Linked DNA regions of Homo sapiens: regions 1 and 2 are each linked to region 3. The links are contacts of gene promoters, found by promoter capture Hi-C in blood cells and fetal thymus (Javierre and others, 2016). All regions are on one chromosome and are shown on one strand. Each heading gives the region's core, a stretch centred on a gene start or on the middle of the fragment in contact. The rest is flanking DNA. Distances are from core to core; before and after follow the strand shown.

What was found. The method cuts DNA at HindIII sites, captures the fragments that hold promoters and counts their contacts. A CHiCAGO score of 5 or more calls a contact.
Region 1: a fragment that was not itself captured here is called in contact with the fragment with the promoter of C12orf43 in region 3 in 4 of 17 cell types (M1 macrophages, M2 macrophages, erythroblasts and 1 more); the score reaches 8.6 in M1 macrophages.
Region 2: a fragment that was not itself captured here is called in contact with the fragment with the promoter of C12orf43 in region 3 in 1 of 17 cell types (M1 macrophages); the score reaches 5.4 in M1 macrophages.

The regions. Positions count from the first base shown.
Region 1 is chr12:120,759,709-120,764,211 of GRCh38, reverse strand. SPPL3 (signal peptide peptidase like 3) reads left to right here. Exons shown (of 11, transcript NM_139015.5): 11 at 1-1,702. Among named protein-coding and RNA genes, the nearest start is that of ACADS, 36 kb to the right of the region's middle. RefSeq lists a silencer at 951-1,114. The HindIII fragment of the contact is 270 bases long and covers 2,793-3,062 here.
Region 2 is chr12:120,798,753-120,803,402 of GRCh38, reverse strand. The region is part of intron 2 of SPPL3 (signal peptide peptidase like 3); the gene reads left to right. Among named protein-coding and RNA genes, the nearest start is that of ACADS, 75 kb to the right of the region's middle. The HindIII fragment of the contact is 1,037 bases long and covers 2,553-3,589 here.
Region 3 is chr12:121,014,321-121,018,567 of GRCh38, reverse strand. C12orf43 (chromosome 12 open reading frame 43) reads left to right here and starts at 2,081. Exons shown (of 6, transcript NM_022895.3): 1 at 2,081-2,238. The coding sequence starts at 2,094. It also overlaps a transcript of OASL not described here. RefSeq lists a silencer at 1,985-2,178 and enhancers at 1,906-2,415, 2,387-2,902. The HindIII fragment of the contact is 10,275 bases long and covers 686-4,247 here.

The DNA.
Region 1 (4,503 bases), core at 1,678-4,177, 260 kb after region 3:
TGTGGCTTCCTTGTATATGGATAAGCTGCTGTCCTTCCCCTTCACAACTGACCCCGCAGTTACAAACTAGTATAGCATTTGTGCTGATTGATGATAGACTCATGGACTTCAGGAGCCCTTACTTGGTTTTGATCAGTGTAGCAAATTAGGGATGAAGAGTTCAAACCTTTTGGCCCTTTCTTTCTTTTCTAGGCTTCTCCCTCGCAGGGTGTTCCGTAGTTTCTTCTCGAGCCAATGCATGTATTATAGCAGCAGGTGTCTTTGTGCTTTCTCATCATAGTAACGTACTACTTGTAAATACATTTTTCTATTTTCTATTTTTTTGTATTTTTTTTTTTGACATTTTGTTTCATTGGTGTGCTGTATATTTTCCATGCCCTCACTCCTTTAAGAAAAAAAAAAAGGAAAAAAGCAACACAATCCTGTCCTTGCTGTTGTGATTATAGTCTTGGTTTACCTGTGGTGACAACCGGGTGTTGGGGACACATGTCAAATGCCCCTCTGAGATGGGCCCTAAATTCCAGTAACTGGGGAAAGAACCAGCTGCTGTGTCCTGAGAGCCTGGCCCTGTGCTGTGGTCTCTGCTGCAAGCCCAGATTTCTGGGAGTAACTAGTGTTAGGTCTGCTGACCTTTACCTAAGCAGCCCCTGCCTGGTAAGAAGGTGCCCATTGTTCAGAGGCAAAGAGAAGCCTGCGGTTGGCATGAGGATGCCTGACAACAAAGGCTGGAGAAGGGCCCTGAGTTCCAGCCTCTCCCCAAGGGTCCCCGCCCCAGTGGCTGCCTCTGTCTTGACCTGTGTAATGAATTAGTGTGCTGTGTCACTGTGGCTTGAAGTCACTGTGGATCGAGCTCACAGGGGGCACCCATCCTGTTGTCAACAGAGTCTGAAGCAGTCAGGGTGTTGGATTCCTCTGTTGTTGTCATCAATTCCTGCTGAGGGGTTTCTGGGGTTTTGTTTTTAATAAATGACTCCTTTGTAGCCTTTGTCACATAATCTTCACTTTGGTTGTTGGTACCAAACAGAGCTCCCAGCCATCTCCTCCCTGTTCTGGAAGACTGATGGGAAGACTCTGTCTGTCCCCAGACCTGGTCATCTGCAGCTCTGGCCCAGTCATAGATACATCAAAGAACTGAAGCTTCTGCTGTCCACAGAACTCAAAACTGCCTCTGCATTGGGTGAAGACTAAAAATCCACTTGCGGACTCTCCCTTCCTTCCTTCTCAGCCCTCGAGGATGCATATAGCTAATTAAGCAGGCCCAGAGACAGAGAGGGGGGCTCCAAAATGACTCGGATTAAGGGCAAGTGCCAGTGATGGGTAGAAATAACGTTATCCTTCATGCCTGTAATCCCAGCACTTTGGGAGGCCGAGGCAGGTGGATCACAAGGTTGGGAGCTCGAGACCAGCCTGGCCAACATGGTGAAACCCCGTCTCTACTAAAAACACAAAAATTAGCTGGGCATGGTGGCAGGCGCCTGTAATCCCAGCTATTTGGGAGGCTGAGGCAGAAGAATCGCTTGAACCTGGAAGGCGGAGGTTGCAGTGAGCAGAGATTGCGCCACTGCACTCAAGTCTGGGCGACAGGGTGAGACTCCATCTCAAAAAAAAAAAAAAAAAGGAAATGTTATCCTGGCAGTGGGTCATTTTAATTTTTCTGTCTTTGTTTTCATAAGAAAATTAAATTCCAGACAGAAGGAACGTCGTTATTTTGTCATTCTCACTTCTGTGCAGGTTTTGGGGGGAAATACCCACACAGGGCTGTGAATGCACCCTGGATTCCAGTTGCTAATCTTCAAAGCCCTTAAAACACTCCCTTAAAACTTTGGCAGAGAAACAGCAAATACTCTACTCGTCTCGGAGGGTTGAGTGGGTGGCTGCAGTTAAAGCACACATTAGACTTCCCTTCCAGTGCTCGTTTGCTCCCCGCTGCCTGATACACTTAGGTCCGCCTCTTATTCTGTTTTCTCAAATACCATGGTTTAGGGGTTTTCTAGGAAGTCTGCTGCATTAGGCATGGCATGCTCATGAAATTTCAGCAGATTCCTTCCTCACTGATCTGAAGTCCTTTTTCCTCACAAAGAGACTGTGTGTTACTAGAACTCCCGCTTTTTAATAACTCTTTTTTCTAGTTTGAGCTAATGAAGATATGACAGTAAAGTCTGTCCAAAGCCTAGTGTGTTCCATTGCTGTTATTACAGTGCATACGCTTTCTGAATGTGACAGTGACAGCTCCCCGCATAGGAACGGTTCGGTGGCTTGGGACTAAGCTACTGTCTGAATTACTTTTGTAGCAGGCTCACAGGCCTTGGGTAAACAGGTAAGTTAGGTCACCCACAAGAAAAACAAAAGTACTCGTTCTCTGTGAGGGTGGAGGGGAAGGGAGTTCCATTTTGCCAATCAAGTGTTAAAAATAGAACCTGCTGTGTCTGCTTAGCAGCTCTCACGTTACTGCTCACCAGATCCCATGTTGTGTGTACGTTTCTGTTTTGTAAAGCCTAGCGTTTACGTCAGAGCCTGGGAATGCAGCACTCGTGTCTATACATGGGAGTACATGCCTTAGGGACATCATTTATACAACCCCCTTCTCTACAGAGCTATGTCAGCGGTACAGGCTCAGAAGGAAGCCATCTCGGTCTCTTTCTGGTCTTCAGTGCACAGTGGCCAGGACAGCCTCCCCCACTTCACCGAATCACATTTCTTCAGCAGTTTCCAACAGTGAAATCATTTCTAGGACAATGGCTGCTAACACGTGTCAGCTGAAGCACTGCAGATCGAGTCATCCAACTCAAGCTTCTTCCTCTTATTGGAAGGGATAAACCAGGTAAGACTTTTTAATCCAGAAATTATTCCTATTCCCTGCAATGTATAGGGTGCTTTCTATCTGCAAAACTCTAAACTCAAATTTCTGCAGGTTCAGATTCCAACTGTCTCATGCGCAGAGACTCTCCCATCACAAAATTCTTCCCGCTCCAGCCATCATCTGTTTCCTCCTCAGCCTTTCCCTTGAAATCCAGAGCCCTTTCCTGTCCGTTAGAGGCAATCAGTCATGTTTCAGTGAAGCTTGAGGCACTGGGCCCCCCAGTGAACAAAACCAGACATCCTGACCCCCTACTCCTGCGGTCTGTGCAGGGCTTGCTTTAGCATGCTTGGCTTGTGGGGAGGGGGTGTGGCAGCCATTCCCACACAAGGTCACGCAGGGATGCCACAGTGCGTTCAAGAGTAGAATCCACAGCCTTCTCTCCGTAACTCTGGGCCTTGCTGTAAATAGCAGAGGCTTGGGCTGGGGATCCTGTATCACTGGACGGGATGTGCCAATGAAGAGAAGGCTGAGAAGCAAGTTGGTGTAGGAGAAGCCCAGTGCTCCTGGTGGACACAGGCCTGCATTCAACCAAATGTCTGAAGACAAGCGAAAGCCTACAGCCCCAAGCGCAATGATCTTTCGTCACTACAGGTTTCAGAAGTCTTACCGCACGGAGCCAGTGGTTAGCAGGTGCTTGATACAAACATCCTGCAGGGAGGCTGTGAAGATTCTAACTGCAGCACTTACGGAGGAGCACTTTAGCGTGCGGTAGATTTCCTAGATAACCTGAGGTCTTAAGAATTCATGCGGCAGACTCCGCTTCGCTTCTGGTTCCTTTCATTTGGAGTCTGCCTAACCAGTTTTTCTCTTAAGTTCCAAGACATCTTCTTCCTGTTGAGTAGAACCTGTAAAACACGCCACCTGTCTGCAGGCGAACAGAGGCTCTGAAGGTTCCAAAATAGCTAAGCCCACGAGCTGTCTCCAGCCCCCATGGAGTCCTGGGATTCTCACCAGATCCAAAGATGACAGGAATGGGAACCAGTTAGGCAGAGGAAGCAAGACTTGAGAGACTGGGAGTGGGGAAGCCGCCAGGCAGTGGGCAGCAGGCCTGCGCTTGTGAGGAATGGGAGACAGGAAGTGGGTGTCCACAGGACAGAGACGGAGGGGGACAGCACGATGGTCACTGCATTCAACCAAATGTCTGAAGACAAGCGATCCAGCCCCGGGATCCCGACACCAGTTGCTCTGTCTCACCAGAGAGCCTCTCTCCAGGCGGACCACCTGTCAGCCTGCTACTGCCACCTTTCACTCTGCCCACCTGGAGCTGCTGGAGTGTAGCCACCACGTGAGCTTCTAGCTTTTGTGTTTGAGCCTTTGCCATTAGAGATTGAATTTCCTCACACCTGCGGTTGCTGTCGTGCCTTGATGGGGTTTTTATCCCCAGGCAGATAGTAACATATCCTGTGACAGCTCCCTGGGGAAGGCGGAAACCAATTTCAGAGAAAGAGGCTGAGCGCTTGCTAGTGCAGGGAGGAACTAAGATGACGAAGCATCGCACGGATGAGTCGTGGCCTTGCCGGCTTGACGGCGGGTAGAATGCAGTGCCACCCTCCCCAAGACCACCATCTGGCCAGGAGCCCCGGCCCCACCTTTCCTCCTTCGCTTGTGCCTCCTGGCACTTCCCGCAGCCCTCCCCTGTTGAG
Region 2 (4,650 bases), core at 1,822-4,321, 220 kb after region 3:
ACTGATCTGCTCTCCCCTCCATTTTGCTTCCTACAATTGTTTATTTGTGCTCTTCACTGCCCGATTTCAGAGCATGTACTAACTTTTGCAAGTTACTTCAAGGAAAAATAAAATGGGGCCAAAGAAAACTAAAAGTATGAGTGGAGACAAAATAGAGCCAAAAAAGAAATGTAAAAATGCATACCATAATGCCAGCACTCCTGTTACTAGTGTTTCACAAGGACCACCATAAGCTTTGTAGCAGCCAGATTTAAAAAGAAAGAATGTAAAACTCAGCTTCCTTCCATCAAAAGAACTCAGTTGTTCAGGTGAATCGCAACTGTTCTTGGCCTTAAGATCAGACAGACTTTTATCCTAACGACCTTCATAAAGAGGATATAATGTTAAGTTCATTCATCTCACAGTAGGCATTCAAATAAGTGTTTGTTGAATGAATTGTAGTACCTTCAATATAAGTTGGTGGCATTGCATGAAAATGTATTTCAGCAAAAGCAGTTTTGCCAAAATTGAAGGTGCACAGTGGGCAACAGGATGTTGTTGTTTAGATAACCATCTTACTGCTAAGTGTGGTCTAAGGTTATATTTTGGAATATCTGGAGAATGAATGGGCTGTTAATTCTTAAACTGGTTATTCTTGAATGTTGATCTGTTAATAAATATTGGTAGCAGACCAGGCACGGTGGCTCACGCTTGTAATCCCAGCATGTTCAGAGGCCAAGGTGGGAGGATCACGTGAGGTCAGGAGTTCCAAGACCAGCCTGGCCAACATGGTGAAACTCCATCTCTACTCAAAATACAAAAATTAGCCAGGCGTGTTGATGCATGCCTGTAATCCCAGCTACTCAGGAGGCTGAGGCAGGAGAATCGCTTGAACTGGGAGGCAGAGGTTGCAGTGAGCCGAGATTGCGCCACTGCACTCCAGCCTGGGCCACAAACTGAGACTCCATCTCAAAAAGGAAAAAAAAAAAAAATATATATATATATATACACACACACACACACACATATATGTGTATATATATACATATATATGTATATATATACACACATACATACATACATACATATATAAAAGCAGCAGCCCAAAAATGTATTATGTTGCCAGCTAAATACAGACCTAGTTGTCTTAACAGCACTCATGGTGCATTCGTATTTTTATCAGAATGAAGGAACCTAATACCTAAATATAAGCCCATGTTTCCCCTTGTCCTGAGGCAGGCAGTGGAAGTTCCTAAAGGCAGGCCTAGAATCTTCCTCAGAAAATCCTTTTTAATCCACTCTAGGACATAAAGAAATGAGTAGTTGATTTCCTAAAGTTCTGTTCCTTGCAACTGAATTAATTCTAGCCTGAAACAAATTTAGGGCAAATATAACCAGATCTCTACCTCAGCCACACTAAAATCTTATTAAGGCACTCACAGAATATTAATATACTTCTTGATATAGTGTCTGTAATAAACTTCATGTGAAATGTACATCAAAGTGACCAAAACACCAAACTGGAATTTATACTTACACCCAATTTAAAGTTGAAGAATGTTGATGAGTTGTCATTCTAACTGACACTAATTAGCTGACAGGGTCAGTGGCCATCTGGACCTTACCCAGTTCAAGGCTAAACCATATCATTCACCTATAAAGCCTGCTGGTCTTAATATTTCTCTGTAGTAAGACAGCTCATGTGCAGCTTATCTAAAAATGATACCAGATCAAGTTTACTTGGGGAGAAATACTCTGTAGGTTTTTTTGTTTGTTTGTTTTTATGAGAAAAAAGCAGTATATACTAATGTGGAAAGATGTAGCGCGTCAAGCAGTGAGCCCATTACTTGGTGTAACAGGGCCAAGGGAAAACTTCCTCTGTGCCCCCTGAATCCTCGCTGAAAAATCCACTGACAAATAGCAGATTAATAGAAAAGGCATACAGATTTGTTAATGTGCACAAAAGTCTTACAAAATATAAGATCTCAAAAAAAAAAAATGGCCAGATGGCTGATGCTTTTATACCACCTTGAGGTTACAGAAAGAATGAGGGCTTGGAGTGTGGCAAGACAGGTTATGGTGGTAAATCAGGTTATGGTGGTGAGACAGATTATGAGAGAGAGAGAAGAGGAGGCCCAGCTAGCACAGGTGGTCCTGTCATGTAGATGAAACCTCACAGGTCGCAGCCCTGAGAGAGAATAGATGGAATATGTTTCTTTCTGACCTTCTAAGGTGTCAGACTCTCAATTAATCTTTCCTGTGTCTGGACAAGGTAGGGCCTCAGAGAAATGCCTCCACCTCATCAATGCATATTTTCTCTACAGATGCAAATCTGCCCCACACAGCTTCTCTCAGCTATTCTTGTATTTCCAGCCCTTCTGAAAACCATCTGAAATATGTCAGAGAAGTATATTTTTGGGTGAAATATTTTTGTTTCCTTCATAATTTTGCCAAGGCAGCAGGCATAAGCTGGAATTTGTGGTCACCCCACTCATGGAGTTTTTCTGTGAATCAAAAGAAACCTTGCCTGTAAAGCACCTAGCAGTGCCTGACAGTATGAGCTCAATCAAGCTTAACTATTATCATCATTTTAACCCCCTGGATGTTCTCAGCTGCTGAGTCAGAGACTGTTTCTTCCTGCCCAGGTTCTTAGTCTTTCTTTCTTAGTGTAGGTTCTATGTAAGTATCAATAATTGGACATTTGTTGACCTCCTACACCTTGACCCATAACTACTTCCTGTTCAGTCATAGTTGATGAAAAGACAAAAAAAAATAGCATATAATATGCTATAATTTAGATGGATTTTTTTTCTGTGATGGTAAATGGTTGTCTGTGATGAAAAAGCCATAGCTCAAGTCCTTCTGTTGATCATTTAAACATTGATTTCTTTTTCTTGTTTTGTTTTTTGTTTTTTTGTTTTGAGACTGAGTTTCATTCTTTTGCCCAGGGTGGAGTGAAGTGGTGTGATCTCAGTTCACTGCAACCTCCACCTCCCGGGTTCAAGCAGTTTTCTTACCTCAGCCCCCTGAGTAGCTGGGATTACAGGTGTGCGCCACCAGGCCCAGCTAGCTTTTGTATTTTTAGTAGAGACGGGGTTTCACCATGTTGTCCAGGCTGGTCTCGAACTTCTAACCTCAGGTGATCCACCAGCCTCAGCCTCCTGAAGTGCTAGGATTACAAGCATGAACCACCGCACCTGACCTAAACATTGATTTCAGTACCTAGACTTGCAAATAGCCAGGATACAATTTGGATGGAATGTATATTTATAACGTTATATTAACATCATATTATGTTACTGTATAGCAATAACAAGATTGTGAAGGCAGGTCAAGATGGAAGAGAATGAAGAGTAGTCTTCTGTGAAGATGCAGCGAACTGTTCTAGGTCCAACCTAGCAATCTGATGTCTATGCACTTAATAAATTACCAAATAAGCTAAGTTAAAGGCCTATAATTGAAAATAGTCCTGGATAGCTTTGGAGGCAGAGTCTTTTGCAAAGGCTTTATTTAAACAGCTTAAGTTTGCTGTCAGCTGTGCAGTGTGAGTAACTTTACCGGACCCCAGTCATAGTGGCATGGGATCTGCTAAGCCCAGGCCCTTTAAGCTTGTTGTATAAAGCTGGAAGATATGAATCTTCCCAGCTTGAGCTAATAGGTAAGGCCCTACTAACTCACTGTGCCCCATTTCTGTTTTGTGCAGCGGTGACCCATGGTCTGCTTCTAACAACCAAACAAGGCTTGATTTTAGCTAAGCTTGTTTGAGGCAGTGAGAAGTTCAAAGTCTTCTAATTACACAGAGAACTAGAAGAATGCTTGCTCTCCTTACCAGTCCTCCACCCTCCCCCACCATCTGATAGTACCTCATTCCTGCCTAAGGCTTTCCTGTCCCTGCTGCAGTTCTTGTCAGTTAGATGCTAAGAAAATGGACCAGCTAAAACTGGTTTGAAGTTGACCACTACTTTCTGCTACAGAAGATCCCTAGCTTACCAACGGTTTGACTTAATGATGGTTCAACTTAAGATTTTTCCACTTCATGATGGTACAAAGGCAGTATGATTTCAGTAGAAAGCATACTTCAAGTACCCATACAACCATTCTGTTTTTCACTCTCAGTACAGTATTCAGTAAGTTACTTGAAATATTCAGCACTTTATTACAAAACAGGCCTTTGTGTTAGATGATTTTGCCCAACTGTAGGCTAATGTACGTGTTCTGAGCACGTTTAAGGTAGGCTGGGCTAAACTATGATGTTCAGTAGGTTAGATGTATGAATATTAAACGCATTTTGAACTTGAGATTTTTCCACTTACCTGGGCTTATTGGGATATAACTCCATTGTAAGTCAAGGAGCAGCTGTATTTGAAAAAAGGGGAAAATCTTGCCTTAAAACATCCAGGATGGAGTTATAAATAGTTCTCAACTAATAACAAATTGAAATTGAGTTATATAACCCTTCATCCTGTCCCGCGGGGGGTTCTCAGCACCTATTCTCACTAACCCAGTCTCATGGGAGAGGCTCCGTAGCAGCTGTGCCTAGGGTTAAACCAAAGAGATGACTGGCAACCTTCCAATCCAGAATAGCGATATAATGCCAACAGAAAAAGTAAGAGAAGCTGGCAATCTGTGTAGCCCCAAGGGTAGAGATGTAGATAAAAATTCCTGCACATT
Region 3 (4,247 bases), core at 832-3,331:
AGGCATTGATCCAGTTCATGAGGGCTCAGGACCCATTATGTAATTGAAAGATTCTCCGTGGGGCCTGAAAGCTTAAGAGAATGAATGACCCCTCCCTCCCCTCCCTCCTTGGGCCCGGTCCCAAGGCGCAAGGCCACTCGCGCCAGCAGCATGTGTCAGCAAGATAGCAGAAGCGGGAAGAGAGCGGGCCAGAAGACACCTACCCCCTGAAGACCGAGAGAGACGTCATCCGGGTACAATGTAGCGGTTACAACAGACTGAGAAACTTCCTGTTTACAGGAGACTACAAAACCCCTGCCCCGTCCTCATTTGGTGCTGACGCCATTTTAAGCCTCAGCCCACCTGCACACACACTGCCTCATGTTGTCTGTTGGCCACGCTCTTGGGGTTCGAACCAACACAAGACCCTTTCACTAATTACTTCCCAGAGGTCCCACCTCCTAATACCATCACCTTGGGAGTAAGGACTTTTTGGAAATTATCAGTATCAAAATGGAGTCACTTATGTCAAACCCTAACAAATGCCTGTCACAAAAATTATCTCAAGAAGTTCCTAAAATCCGCAGTATTATAGATAAACCACTTGCATAAGAATATTTGCCTAACAGTGGGTGTCTCCACAATAAGCTAAAGCCAACTCCTGCAACAGGCTCCTGTGATCAACGGTACTTGTTTTAAAGAAGCTTATGTGGACTTTGTCTTTTCTCGTTGCCACAACCTCTTTTAATGTGCCTATAGTCCACTATAGCATGCATATCTCAAATTGCAATTCCTTGCAATTCTGGAATAAACGCTTTATTTTGGAGAGTCAGTCTCTCTGTTATTTATTTTATGGTGTCAATTTTAACATATGAATTTTGGAGGAACACATTCAGACCATATCAGTCACCTTCCTCTTCTTTGAAATAGAAAAAGCTCAAGGCCAGAGAGTTTATTTTAGTAAAGTTTTGACATACCTGTCTTCAAAGATAAAACATGAAACAGCATTCCACACACAAAAGTAAAGTGATTTTGTTCATCCTTCACTGTGAGGTATTTTAACCACAGAGATTCTAATTTTTTGGTCTTGGATGGGTCCTGGGAGTCAGTATTGCCTGGCTAATTTTTGTATTTTTAGTAGAGATGGGGTTTCACCATGTTGGTCAGGCTAGTCTCGAACTCCTGACCTCATGATCTGCCCGCCTCGGCCTCACAAAGTGTTGGGATTACAGATGTGAGCCACCGTGCCCGGACAGGATTCTGCATTTCTCTTTTTTTTTTTTCGAGACAGAGTCTCAGTCTGTTGCCCAGGCTGGAGTGCAGTGGCACGATCTTGGCTCACCTCAACCTCCACCTCCCAGGTTCAAGTGATTTTCCTGCCTCAGCCTCCTGAGTAGCTGGGACTACAGGTGCGTGCCACCATGCCCAGCTAATTTTTGTATTTTTAGTAGAGATGGGGTTTCACTATGTTGGCCAGGCTGGTCTCGAACTCCTGACCTTGTGATCTGCCTGCCTCAGCCCCCCAAAGTGTTGGGATTACAGGCGTGAGCCACCGTGCCCAGCCTGGATTCTGCATTTCTAACGAGCTCCCAGGTGTTACCAATGCTGCTGGCTCATGGACTACACTCTTAAGTAGTAAGGCCCTAGGCTATTAAAGGAAATACAGATTCCTGGATTCCACCTATCAGAGATTCTGATTCTGTTAGTATTTTCTGTGAGACCCAAAAGTCTGCAGTTTAACCAGCTCTCTAAGGTGTTTCTTAGGCCCAGCTGGACTGGGAAATTACTAGAATAAATGACATGGAATCAAAACCTGGGAACTAATCCTGGGTCTGTCATTAACTCCTTAGGAGATTCCCATCCCCTCTGGAGATCTGTCATCAAGAAATGATTGGAGAAGTTAATCTCTTAGGCCCTTCTAGCTCTTGCCTTTGAGAACCGCCCACCTCCCCATTCCCACCTGGTATCCCCAACCCAGTACAGTTCATGGCCAATGGCGGTCCAAGTCTTGGAACTACAATCCCCACAATGCCTCGCGCCTCTCCTCTCACGTGACGTCATGAAGGAGGCTTGATAACGGCGGTGTTCTCCACAATCCTTTGCGGTGGTTCAAGATGGCGGCGCCCAGTGGCACAGTGAGCGATTCGGAAAGTAGTAACAGCAGTAGCGATGCGGAGGAGCTGGAGCGGTGCCGCGAGGCGGCAATGCCGGCTTGGGGCTTGGAGCAACGCCCGCACGTGGCAGGGAAGCCAAGAGCCGGTAGGGTACTATGTTTGGGGAGACTGGCTGAGGGGCGTGGGATCTTCCCCTGGAGCCTGAGAGGATGGATGGTGAGGAGAGAGTCACTGGGACTCGGCTTCCTTCCCCGAGAGACCTCCAGGGACTGGGTGTAGTGCAGATTGAAAGCATGGGCAGGTGCAGTAGGGAGGGTATTTCATTATTCCAGTCGGGGAAGCTGAGGTACCCAAATGTCTTTTGATTCTGCCTCCTTGGGTCTATCCTCACTGCCCCACACTGGGAAGGCTGCCGTCTCTTCGAGATAACTGCAACAGCCCCCTCCCGGTATTCTCGCACCCAGCCTTTCCCCACCTCCAACACATTCTCCCACCCTGGAGGTTGTTGCCAAGAGCAGTGCCCAGCACATCACTCTGACCGTGACTCCCTAGTGCCCTGGGAATAAATACAGAGCCCCGCAACATCAAGGGGCCTAATCATGGATAGAACCCAAGGGTTCTTGAATTTGGAATGAAAACATGTTGCATCTTTGCTTTCTATTCATCTCTGACTGAATTTTAGCATCTCTTTCCGTCTTGCAAGCACTAAGCCACAGTAGTTCTGGCAATGCCGTTACTTTATCCCAACAGAAGTCACAGATTTTCATATCTCATTACAATCTTTGCAGATACAGATATCAATATATCATTTTATTGATAAAAAGATATTGGGGAAAAAAGTCATTTACACTCATCCCTGATTTAAAATGTGCCACTCTAATTTTTAGACCCATCTCTATATCTAAGATGTAAGAAGCACATACATCACAAGTTTGGTTGTTTACTATCATGATAATTAAATTTCGGTATCATTGGTTTTCTTTGTAATCCTGTATGTTGCATTTCATGCATTTAAAACATTGCTCTGAGAAGAGAACCGGGCTTCACCAGGCTGTTAGAGAAGGCTATGGCAAAGCAAGGTTAAGAACCGCTGGATTTGTTTAAAAGGACTTACAAGCCCTTTGGTGATCCATTGCCTTCCTCTCCCTTCCTTCCCTCCTGCCATACTGCACTTCCTGTAGGTAGCTTCCAGACCATAGTCTGCCCCTCTCACCCCCTAGTACCATAACCACAGTTTTCTCTGCAAGTTCTATTTACAGATCTGCCTTTCCATCTCATTAGCGGTGGGAACTTGAGCAAAGTACTTAAATCTCACTGTACCTAAATTTCCTCATCTGTACAGTGCGGGTAGTGATAGTACCCACCCCATAAGGTTGAGAAGTAACTGAGATAATGCAATCTACAGTGCTTGGCACATCTTAAAGGCCCAATACATGGTGGCAAATATGTGGTTGGTCTTTCCACATGGACTGCTTTCCTCCTCCTGCCTAATTCTCGCTCTTTTTTTTTTCAAAACTAGGACTCAGTCTGTTACCGAGGCTGACACAATCATGGCTCACTGCAACCTCGACCTCCCCCTACTCAGATGATCCTCCCACCTCAGCCTCCCAAGTAGCTGAGACTACAGATGTATAGTCCCAGCTACTTTTTGTATTTTTTGTAGAGATGGGGTTTTGCCATGTTGCCCAGGCTGGTCTCGAACTCCTGGGCTCAAGTGATCCTCCCTTCTCAACCTTCAAAGTGCTGAGATTACAGGTGTGAGCCACTGTGCTCGGCTTCTAGTTTTTTTTGTTTGTTTGTTTGTTTTTTGGGGTTTTTTTTTTTTTTTTGCATTTTTTTTTTTTGAGATGGAGTTTCACTCTTGTTGCCCAGGCTGCAGTGCAATGGCACGATCTCAGCTCACTGCAACCTCTGCCTCCTGGGTTCAAGTGATTCTCCTGCCTCAGCCTCCCTAGTAGCTGGGATTACAGGCGCCTGCCACCACGCCCAGCTAATTTTTTGTATTTTTAGTACAGACAGGGTTTCACCGTGTTGGCCAGGCTGGTCTCAAACTCCAGACCTCAGGCAATCCACCTGCCTCGGCCTTCCAAAGTGCTGGGATTACAGGTGTGAGCCACCGCGCCTGGTCTCTTTTTTTCTTTTTGAGACGCAGTC